Regions from separate parts of the Homo sapiens genome. Here region 2 is linked to region 1. Evidence: promoter capture Hi-C in 16 types of primary human blood cells and fetal thymus (Javierre and others, 2016). All regions are on one chromosome and are shown on one strand. Each heading gives the region's core, a stretch centred on a gene start or on the middle of the fragment in contact. The rest is flanking DNA. Distances are from core to core; before and after follow the strand shown.

The links. The method cuts DNA at HindIII sites, captures the fragments that hold promoters and counts their contacts. A CHiCAGO score of 5 or more calls a contact.
Region 2: a contact is called between the fragment with the promoter of ZDHHC20 here and the fragment with the promoter of EEF1AKMT1 in region 1, in 7 of 17 cell types (monocytes, naive B cells, neutrophils and 4 more). The highest score is 10.9, in monocytes.

The regions. Positions count from the first base shown.
Region 1 is chr13:20,771,058-20,776,996 of GRCh38, forward strand. EEF1AKMT1 (EEF1A lysine methyltransferase 1) reads right to left here and starts at 2,904. Exons shown (of 5, transcript NM_001318939.2): 1 at 2,864-2,904. RefSeq lists an enhancer at 2,259-2,478. The HindIII fragment of the contact is 12,884 bases long and covers 1-5,939 here.
Region 2 is chr13:21,456,197-21,462,203 of GRCh38, forward strand. ZDHHC20 (zDHHC palmitoyltransferase 20) reads right to left here and starts at 3,107. Exons shown (of 13, transcript NM_001330059.2): 1 at 2,858-3,107. The coding sequence starts at 2,975. It overlaps LOC124903131 (a long non-coding RNA gene), which reads left to right and starts at 3,351. Exons shown (of 2, transcript XR_007063713.1): 1 at 3,351-3,983; 2 at 4,187-4,450. RefSeq lists a silencer at 3,020-3,399, an enhancer at 3,263-3,432 and a cis regulatory region at 3,348. The HindIII fragment of the contact is 7,258 bases long and covers 1-5,357 here.

The sequences.
Region 1 (5,939 bases), core at 1,654-4,153:
ACGGGGGTCTCGTCATGTTGCCCAGGCTGGTCCTGAACTCCTCGATTCAAGTGATCTACCCACCTTGTTCTCCCAAAGTGCTAAGATTACAAACATGAGCCATTATGCCCAGCCAATTCCATTTTTATTAGTACTTTCCACAGCTGCGTCACTGAAGAAGGGCTTTTAAATAACAGCCTGTAACTTGTTAATCACTTAGAAATAAAACATGAAAACCAAAAAGGAACCAGTTGACTATAAATGCAAAACAAGGAATTCCAAAGAGCAATTTAATAAAATTGTCGCCTTTCATAGCTGTAAAAGGCAATTAAATTCCAATCTATATAAGAATTTGATCCCAAAATGAAAGTATAAAGAGTACCAAATCCATTCCTTTGATAATCATTTTCTACCCTGTAGAAAGCACTGTTCTTGGTGATGAGTCTCAAAGTCCTTATTCTCTTGGAGCTTACATTCTAGAGAGGAAAAGACAGACTAAAACAATACATATGAAATAAATGTTAGATGACAATAAGATTAATGGAGGAACACATGGAGAGCATAGGGGGCTGCAATTTTAGGAATCGTAGAAGTTTCCTACATTGTTAAAGTGAGTTCAAAAGTGCATCACTTCTTCTAATGAGGAAAACTGAAATCTGTTAGCAAGATAAACATCAAAGATTAAATGAAATGGCCGGGAGTGGTGGCTCACGCCTGTAATCCAAGCACTTTGGGAGATCGAGGCGGGCAGATCACCTTAGGTAAAGAATTCGGGATCAGCCTGGCCAACATGGTGAAACCCTGTCTCTACTAAAAATACAAAAATTACCCAGGTGTGGTGGCAGGCACCTATAGCGCCAGCTACTCAGGAGGCTGAGACAGGAGAATCGCTTGAACCCAGGAGATGGAGGTTGCAGTCAGCTGAGATCTCGCCATTGCACTCCAGCCTGAATGACAGGAGTGAGACTACATTTCAAAAAAAAAAAATTAAATTAAATGAACCTATTTTTAACTATTTTTTAAATCACTATTTTATCATATCTTTATTGTTTTTAAAATTTCTAAGGGGGTTTATGAGATTTTTCAAATCCAAAAGAGCTGGGAAGTACTGTGTTATATTATTATTATTTTTAAATTTTTTCTGGCTACTCTGGGCACACTGTCTATGGCTGGCCCTGCCCCACAAGTGGCAGTAAAAAAAATTTTTTTCTTTAGATTTTAAAACTTGTACCTATGGATTATATTGAAATTATATTATTATTAAGCTGACCTTGGACCTTATGTGGCTCAGACTCTAAATCAGCAGTTCTCACAGAATGAGGAGCCCTTTTGTCGCTAAGGGGAACATCTGGCAATGCCTAGAGACATTTTTGGTTGCCGTAAATGGGAAGGAGGGTGCTACTGGCATCAGGTGGGTAGAGGCTGCTGAACTTAAAATTCACAGGACAGCCCTCCACATTAAAGAAGTATCCCGCCCTACAAGCTGCAGTTGAGAAATTCTAGGTTAGGCAGACACATGGCGAACACCAACGGTAAGGTGGAGGCCCTCTATAGAGAAGCACCATTCACGCCATGGGATCAGAGTGGAGGGCCTGAGTGGGGAGAGGAGTGAAAGAGCAGGTGGAGCTTCAACTCGGCCTCAGGAAAAGGTAAGGATGAAGAGTGAAGACTTCAGAAAGATGGAACAGCATGAGCAAAGGGGCGGACACGTTAGCTTGCAGCATAAGCAGGGATTAGCTGGCTTCTCAGGGGCTGTGGTTAGTCTCTTTTTGGATAAAATTACTCAATTTCCATGTTATCAAATTTACTTAGGGCAAAACCACCATACTGTAATTTCAACATTCATTCTTGTGTGAAATTAGGTTAAGATAGTGTGATTCAGAGCAAAGAGCATTAACCTAGGAGCCATCCCAGACTCCAGTAAACCGCAGGAGAGCAAGGCTCCCTCTATGAATGGGTAAGGCCTAGATATTCTCCAAATACTTTTTATAAATTGCTGGATGATTCTCCCCTTAATCCAATTTACGTCCAGAAAAGGGCCAAAGGTTTTCATTCTGTTTTCATCTTTGAGTCCCCCTGCCTCAAACAGTTCCTTCCTTCTTGCTTTCCAGAATTCTATTTATCCTGTTTTTAAATTAACTTTAAAAAGGAGGTAATGCTTACAATGAAATGCAGGTCGTACGTGTGCAGTGCGACGTTGTGATGTACGCCCCATGTAACCACAACCCCTATAAGGAAGGCCTTCCTGTCTGACATGTGGCTCCCTCCCGGTAGGGACCCGCTATCGTCCCAGCACTTCTTCTGCACCTCCGAAGCTACTGCCCGTTTCGCAGTAAAGCCGCCCGCGTCCTAGTCTACTCCACCTCGCAGCACCCGCATCCTGCAAGGGACCTGCCTCAGAAGCCCCAGCGACAGGCGCCGCGGGTGCCCGCCCTCCAGGAGCGGACAGTCAGGCCTGGGCATTTCGCAAACTCCATCAGCGAACTTCTGAGGGCAAAGATGAAAAGGACAGCAGGCCGAGTCCTGTTTCTACTCGGAGGGAAGGGAGGCCTCCACGCGCTGCCGTAGCCTGGGGGTTAATTTCCCCGTCAGCACCAAGGCTGCCTAAGGCCCGGGCGCCAACGTGCGCGGCACAGGACGCGGCGCCTTCCGGCGACCGGGACGCGAGGCCCAACAGCGCCTAACACAGCAACCAGGATCCACTCTCAGGCCGGCGCCAGCTCCTTCCCTCAGGAATCCGCCAGCCACTGCTAATTAAACTCTTCCACCACTACCACCCTGGAAAAAAGGTGAGAAACAAACACACAAAAGGCACCTAACCCAGTCCAAAACGCCTCGGCGGCGCGCAGCCAACCCTACAGCTGCGCCCGAACCCGCCACTCACCAGCCGCGCGTGCGCAGTCGCCCAGACTCGCCGTGTGCAGTGGGAGTGGCTAGCCAGTCTCGCTAGCGCAGGCGCAGGCCCTCCCGCCCAGGCCCTTGCGCAAGGCAGGCCATCTCCCCGCAGCGTCTCAATCCCGCGTTTACAACACTGAGGGCCGTCTCCAGCCTGGAGTCGTTCCTTCGCTTGTCTCATCAGCCGCCCCCAAGAATGGTAGCAAAAAAACAACAACAACAAAAAAAATGAAGGCCCTGGCAGGGCGCGGTGGCTCACGCCTGTAATCCCAACACTTTGGGAGGCCGAGGCGGGCGGATCACCTGAGGTCAGGAGTTCGAGACCAGCCTTACCAACATGGTGAAACCTCGTCTCTACTAAAAAATACAAAAATTAGCTGGCCGTGGTCGCGTGCGCCTGTAATCCCAGCTACCCAGGAGGCTGAGGCAGGAGACTCGCTGGAACCCGGGAGGCAGAGGCTACAATGAGCCGAGATCGCACCACAGCTACTCCAGCCTGGGCGACAGAGCAAGGCAACATCTAAAAAAAAAAAAATTAAGATCCTAATTAAAGTTAAACCCACTATTTTGCACTGAGTCACGTAGATTTTCAAAGTCAAGGCTTCATTGGTCGATTGTCTGCTCAGTCTTTTTAAATCAAATCGTTGACTTTAAATGTTGACATCAAATTGAGGCTTTGGTAAAATTGACAGGATTGGCGGTAGCGGGGGGGAACCTTTAAAACTTGTTAGTCTTTCAGAGTCTTCAGTTTTGAATGAGTTGGTCAATATATGTATTTAGACATCAAGCGCCGTAAGTATGTATGATTTTTGTCAACAACACCTTAATTATCTTGCACATACAGGCACTGATTATTGAAAGGTTCCCTTACGTTTTAGCAGCTACCAAATTATAAGTGATACAAAGTATTTGTTTCCAATTCCCCAAGAAATCAATCTGTATTATGCTTCTACCCTCTCTTTCCTCCATTTTCTTTACCAATTTCATGATCTTGCTAAATTTTATATATTCTGCTGAGCAATGTGAAAATCCTTTCTGGTATAAGGTAAGGATATAAACTGTTCAGCTGGCAAATGATGCTATTCAGTAAGTAGTTAATGAAACAGGTTTATAACATTGGGTGTACTATAATTTCTATTTTAAGAACTGTTTCCAGTTTATAATAACCCATGCTACATTTTGACTTTGTTTTGAATTGATGACAAGTCTATTAACCAAATATTTCAAGATCAGGTGTATTCTGGAAAAGGAACAGGAAGAAAATATATTTAAAAAACTAAAAGAAATTTAACACAAACTGAGAAACAATAACCAACTTTTATGAGTGCATTTTTTATGGAGGTGGTGTTCAGTAAATAAGACTGCCCTAGCTTATAACTACTTTAACAGAAGTTTACATTCAGTCAAATTGAGTCTGAAACAGTAGATCATTTTCTTTCAAAGCTGACATTGCTTTAATAGCATGTAAGACATGTTATCTTCATGTATTTTACTATATACTATTTTTACTATGAAAGTGACCACAGATGTCAGAGTTTTTTGTACCTTCACTAGACCTGATTGCTCAGACAGCATGAGAGTAATACAGTAAGATTCATATTTTCCTGGTGAAACCTATGCACTGTAATTTAATGGTTTTTGCAAATCATAAACATGTAAAATATCAAAGGAGTACTTATTCTCATTAAAGGGGAAATTACTTGTCCAGTTAAATTGGATATGAAGGATGTCTTCAATTCAGGAATTATTCCTTTTGTGTATTCACCAGTGATTTTTGTTCGTCTTGCTTCTCTTCAGAAATGGTGTAAAAAAGAAAGTAAACCAGACTTGGGACCAGGTGCAGGGCTCACGCCAGTACTTTGGGAGGCCAAGGTGGGCAGATCACCTGAGGTCAGGAGTTTGAGACCAGCCTGGTCAACATGGCGGAACTCCATCTCTACTAAAAATACAAAAATTAGCCCGGTGTGGTGGCACACGCCTGTATTCCCAGCTACCTGGGAGGCTGAGGCAGGAGAATCGCTTACACCCGGGAGGTGGAGGTTGCAGTGAGTCAAGATCACGCCATTGCACTCCAGCCTGGGTGACAGAGGGAGCCTCTGTCTCAAAAAAACAAAACAAAACAAACCACACTAGACTCAGTTTTTCTTAAAACAACAACAAATTACCTGTAAGTACAAAAACAGATTCAGGTGTTTGTTTTTCTTCCATTGAGTGCTTTATCACAGAGTTATTCGAATTATCCTAAGCATGTTGCAAAGGACATTCCTTAGATTTCTAGTCCTGTAAGGTACTTTGAGAAAAGACTGTATAAAGTAAAATGAGGAAAATCTGATTAAACTCTTCTTCTGAGTTTCACCATAGGCATTAATGTATTAAAGCCTTCAACTTAATGCACTAAAGAAACCTGTTTTATTTATCAAAACTATTTAACAACAATTATTTTAAAAAATTACTAATTAAACTCACTTTGGGAATCACCGTTAGGATTTTTTTTTTTTTTTTTTTTTGAGACGGAGTCTCGCTCTGTCGCCCAGGCTGGAGTGCAGTGGCGCGATCTCGGCTCACTGCAAGCTCCGCCTCCCGGGTTCACGCCATTTTCCTGCCTCAGCCTCCCGAGTAGCTGGGACCACAGCTGCCCGCCACCACGCCCAGCTTTTTGTTTTTTTTTTTTGTATTTTTAGTAGAGACAGGGTTTCACCGTGTTAGCTAGGGTGGTCTCGATCTCCTGACCTCGTGATCCGCCCGCCTCAGCCTCCCAAAGTGCTGGGATTACAGGCGTCAGCCACCGCGCGCCCGGCCAGGATTTTTTCATTGTTGTAGAAATAATAGGTGCCTATTCAGCAGAAAATAAAATCCTTGTTGCTGTGGTTTGAATAGCTCCCTTGCAAAATTCAATTGTTGCCAATGTGCCAGTATGAAGAGGTGGGGCCTTTAAGAGGTGATTAGGCCAAGAGAGTTCCTCCCTAATGAATAAAATTAGGTCCCATTACAAAGGGGCTTGAAGGAGGGAGTTGATTCTCTCTCGCCACCATCTGGTGATGGCTTGCTTGCCTCTTCCACATGAT
Region 2 (6,007 bases), core at 1,857-4,356, 690 kb after region 1:
GGAGTTTGAGACCAGCCTGACCAACAAGGTGAAACCCCCGTCTCTACTAAAAATACAAAAAAAATTAGCTGGGCATGGTGGCGGGCACCTGTAATCCCAGCTACTTGGGAGGCTGAGGCAGGAGAGTCACTTGAACCCAGGAGGCAGAGGTTGCAGTGAGCCAAGATCGCATCATTGCACTCCAGCCTGGGCAACAAGAGTGAAACTCTGGCTCAAAAAATACATATATAAATAAAAAGAATATCCTATAAAAGTATTAAAACAGCACTTTTAAGTAAAACTCACACTTCCCTCCATTTAAGTCCTCCTATAAAGTAATATATCTATACATATTTCAGTGGGAGGGTCAGTACTTATGAAAACAAATACATACAAGTAGTTTAAAGGATAGTTTTAATATGAGTAAATGCACTTTTATGCTCAACTATTTTATACTCCAGTGACACTGCAGACCTCCCAAATTCTCTCTAGTTAAAATGAGATAACTCAGAAGTTAATACAGCCTCTACATAAGACCTTTCACCACCAAATATTTTAAGATTCTGCCAAGCATCAGGCCATAGTTATAGAATGTTTTAACTTAATGAAATTGTAGGGTATAATCTCTACAGAATGGGCCTCAAGCCTAACTAAGTGATCTCCAAAAATATGCCAACCCCTTTATCCCCCCACACCATTATGGACCAAACAATTACAGTTCCATTGACCCTCATAGCTTACTGAAGTTATATGAAAGAACGGAAAGATGTGGGTCACATTCCAATAATCAATTGTGTGACCTAACCAAAAGGACCTATTCGCTCAGTCTCACGTCCTCCACCTGTAGAGATACCTATGCTGTGACATACTGAAAGAATTAAAGGAGAGGGTGAATGAAATGTCCCCTCTATGCCCACTAGCACATGGCACTTCTCAATTCATGTTCATTTCTCCTTCTTTATTTGAAGTGGTGAAAGAAATCAGAAGCAATTTAAGACTTTTCACAGCACTGTTTGATCTCATTTCTTAATATTTTTGACAAAAACCATCTACAGGTTAAGCTGTGGAATCTCAACATAAATGCACATTTTTAGTGTTCCTTCAGCTTTACTTCAAAACCACTACGGGAATTAAAATACGGTAGGAATAATCTTCTGACAGAATAGGAATGACATAACTTTTAGAATAAATGCCCACTTCAGAGTAAATAAGAAGATAAAGGAGGTATCATCATAAGTTGATGAGAATCCTATGATCACTACCACTTTCTGGAAGTAGCTCCCAGAAATATTAAAATCTAGTAATTTTAATTGACTCAAACATCATTTTTAGTAAACATTCTGGTATCCAAAAGCATGAGACTAAACAATGATATTGAAAAGATTAATATTATTTGGAAATGTATTCCACAACTAATTTATTCTGGGCCTACCTGCAGGGATAGTCGTCCCAAAATTAAACGTTCTATAGGTACAAAGTAATTTTAAAACTGGATGTTTTAATTTCAAAACTTATAAATTTTCTGAGCCAAAGCATTCTCTTCCATGTATAGAACTAGGGTTTTAACCAAATACTTGGTTGAAAGCTGTACAAATCCAAACATAATTGAAGTCTTGATTCTGCCACTTTCAAGAGTGGGTGGTACAGATTCTTCTCATTCATAACATTAGTTTCTAGCTGATGTGGTTCGTTATTCAAAGAACACTTAACAGTCCTTCATAAAATGGTAGATTCAGTCTAAGGACTAAGAGTAGAACATTCTGGAATAACAATAACGTTTACAAACACCACTTACCATTTGGTCCTAGGTTTTCATAAAAAATTGATATAGGCAGCAGATGTATACAGAACACCCTAGTTGAGGCCAGTTTAAGTGTAAAATACCCACATACTCAAAGCCTAAGAACAATTTACTTAAGACAAAACAATGTTGGAGAAATTGCCCAATATCACAAATGTAGCAGTCACCCCTAAACAGTGTTTTTGATTAATGACAACCAATTTCCTTCAATCTTAAAGGCAACCAATTCAAGCCAGTAGGTTAAATCCTTGAAGTATACTGCAATGCTACTCCTTTTTTCCAGGGAATCAGATGAGAATTTTGTGCTAAGAACTTATCAGGAAAATGGAAGTAACGAAAATTAACACGCCAAAATATGAGTATAAGAAATATAAGCCTCCTTAATAATCAGCCAAGAAAAAAATAATCAGGTTATGTCTCCTCCCACCCATTCTTTCTGTCTTAACCTTCTGCAAAAGCCGGCTGGATTCAGAGTAGAAATAAACGAATTTTACAATGAGTCGAGTACCACCAAAAATCAAAAGTGGGAGCTTACTCGTCCTCCAGGTCTGACCCGCCTCCAGCCCGAGGCCACCAAAAGACACACCTCCCTTCCCCCAACCCGCCACAGCCGGCTCTACAGGTAACAGGCGTTTCTTCTCGCGCAGTTTGAACAAAAACAATCCAGAAGGAACAGATTTGGTTTTTTAAAAAAAATGAACAAAAGCCAAAAAAGCCACAAACACAACCTAAACCTTCTAAGAAGCTCGACTACTCCCGTTCTGCACGTTCCTTCCCAGAAGGATGCAGACCCCCGGTGTCGGCGGGAACCAGGAAGCTCTTGGGGCCTCCCTGGGCCAGACCTGCACCCGGGAAGCCGCCGCAAGGCTTCAGGAGCCCCAGGTCGCCCCAAGGCCGCGCCGCAGGATTGAACAAAGCGGCGGGTGCAGCAACCTCGGCGCTTCCGAGCGCGTTCGGGGCCGGACGCCCGGCGTCCGGCGCTGGCTCCAGAAAGGCGGCGGGTGTGGGGCGCAGAGGCCTATCTCGCGCCCTAGCCGCGGCCCGCGCCCCGCCGCAGTCCCCGGGGACGGTACTCACACACGCAGAGCTCCACCACGTACGCGTAGTAGGACCAGACGACCACGAAGGTGATGAAGAGCACCGGCACCCAGCCCACGACGCGCTGGCAGCAGCGCCACAGCGTCCAGGGCGCCATGTTCCGCTGGCGGCTGCCGAGCCCCGCGTCCCACCGTTCTGGGGAGCGCGGGAGCCCCGGCGACGGTGACTCGGACGCTCCAGGCGGCTGCTGGTCCAGCTCCCCCGCCTCCGAGGCAGGACTTGTGGGAGCAAAAGTCCGAGGCGCCGCCGGGACTCCTCCCGTCCCGGCGCCCAGCCAGGCCCCGCCCCCACCCCACATCCCGTCGCCCCCCTCCCCCCGCGTCCGTCCCCGCCAGCCCGCCCGCCGCGGGCCGCGGGCCGCCCCCGGTCTCCGCGTCGTTGGGGCGGGGTTTCCGCGGCCGGGGAGGCGGTGAGGGGGCGGGGCCGCAGCTCGGGACCGCCCATGGGGCGTGGCGGGGCTGGATGCGGACAGGCTGGGCGGACGCGGGAGGCCGGGGAAGGAGAGGCGAAAAACACGCCCTTGATGGATGAGAGGGACAGGGGATAGCTTTTGTGGATCGAGACTCAATAGGGGAGGGAGACTATGGAAATGATTCCTTAGCTGATTTGTGGATCTTGGCCCTCTCTGTGTACAGAACTCGCTCCACTGGGGTTCCTGGGACATTGAGTAGTTGGGGCACTGTTTCAAACATGACAAGGCCATTCCCCACTCAGTGTGCGAAGAATGCACATTGTTAGAAGGCTCCTCCTGTGATTTTTATGTTCGTCCATCTTGGCGGAACCCCTCCCTTTCTTGAAGATGGAACGGTAGATACCTGTAATTTCGGGTAGAAGCCATGTAGGGTCCATCAGTTTGATTCGTAACCCAAATTTAAGATTGAGTAGCGAGAAGGAAAGGGCATGTAAATGACCCTCTCCTTGCCCCGCAAACGACTAAGGAAATTTAAAGAATTTATTTACAACTAGAGGTTGCTAAGCAATGACGATAATCATATAGAACCCAGAAGCATCACTGTGAAGACTTCACAATGCAAGGTCAGACGCATTAGAAGGGATTCCAGACCGCAATCTTCATACCAGTTCCTGCTACTAGCATTCAGTTTTGGTTAGAATGAATTTTTGTGTTTGTTTTTTGAAACAGGGTCTTCTCGCTCTGTCGCCCAAGCTGGAGTGCAGTGGCACGACCTGGGCTCATTTAAGCCTCGACCTCCCTGCTAAAGCACTCCTCCTGCTTCAGCCTGCAGAGTAGCAGGGACTACAGGCCCGCCACCATGCCCAGCTGATGTTTGTATTTTCTGTAAAAACTAGGTTTCGCCCTGTTGCCATGCTGGCCCTGAACTCCAAGGCTCAAGGAATCCCAACCCCTCTCCGCCTCCACCTCCCAAAGAAGTGCTGAGATTACAGGTGTGAGCCACCACGACCGGCCTACACTGAGCTTTAAATTAGCTACTGCTCACTAAAGTCTCCATGAAGAAGACGTCACCCTTTGCTGTGTCAGAGAAATGTAGTAAAAGCGAGTAAGTATTTAATCACTGCACACTGCTGCTTGAGTAATAAAGCATGTATAAAAGATTCTGTTCTCCCTGATTTTGTGCCTTAAAAGTCATATTAGTTAGTGGCCTAGTTGACAGTAGGTTTAGGTTCAAGTTCAACTAGTTTTCCAGAGAGGCTGCTTAGGAGGGTTAGACCTCAACATAGAATTCGGATGGACATGGAAGAACATAAAGCCGTTTCTCCTCTATGTCATCTCTACGTACCAAAACCATGCTGCTAGAGCTCAGCACAAAGCCATGTCCTTTACAAGCTCCAGGGCTGCTAGAAATGATCTTTCACGACATTTTGTTTATAACCTAACTATAAAACTGTCACATTCGTTTCCTAGGGTGACTATAACAAAGTACCACAAAACTGGGGAATAATAGAAATTGGTTGTCTCACAGTTTAGGAGGGTAGGTGTCCCAAATCAAAGTGTTGGCAAGGATATTGGATATGGTTTGGATGTTTGTCCCCTCCAAATCCCATGTTGAAATGTGATCCCAGTGTTGGAGGTGGGACCTGGTGGGAGGTATTGGATCATTAGGGTGGATCCCTCATGAATGGTTTAGTGCCATCCCCTTGGATGAGGGGTTCTTTCTCTAGTAGTTCACATGAGATCTGGTTATTTAAAAGAGCCTGATCCTTCCCCCACTCTCTCTCTTGCCCCCTCTCTTGCCATGTGACATGCTGGCTCCCCTTTGCCTTCTGCCGAGAAGGCAGAAGTCTATCTCTGTGGTCCTGTGTCTTCAGAGATAAGGATGTTCCTTTGTCTGGGTAGAGGGAGGGCACCTCTTGAATAACAGTCTTAGGTCTGCCTTCAGGGGAAGGCCTGAGACGCTTTTGCTAGTGCTATGGCCTGCTTCAGGGGAGAAGAGCGAGAGGAAGGTGAGAGGGACCTTCCTGTTGCTGTTGTCTCCAATGTTGTCTCCAACTGATGATTGGAAGCTTCTTGAGGCCTCACCAGAAGCATATGCTGACCCCATACTTTCTGTACAGCCTGGAGAGCTGTGGGCCAATTAATCCACTTTTCTTTATAAATTACCCAGTCTCAGGTATTCCTTTATATCAGTGCAAGAATGACCTAACACAGCCATGTGCCCTCTGAAACTTGTAGGGGAGAATTCTTCTTTGCTTCTTCCTAGCCTTTGGTGGTGACCATTAGTCCATGGCATCCCTTGACCTGCAGTGGCAGTGGCATCACCCCAATATCTACCGCTATCCTCAGGTGGCATTCTCCTTTCCTGTCTCTCCCCTTATATTGGGTTAAGGGCCTACCCTACTCTAGTATGGCCTCATCTTAACTAATTACATCTACAACAGGCCCACTTCCAAATAAGGCCACATTCTTTTTTTTTTTTTTTTCAGTAGAGTCTTGCTCTGTCACCCAGGTTGGAGTGCGGTCACGTGATCTTGGCTCACTGCAACCTCCACCTCCCAGCTTCAAGTGATTCTCATGCCTCAGCCTCCCGAGTAGCTGGGATTACAGGCGTGCACCACCACGTGAGGCCTGCATTTTGTATTTTTGCTAGAGATGGGGTTTCCCCATGTTGGCCAGGCTGGTCTCAAACTTTTGGAGTCAAGTGATTTGCCTGC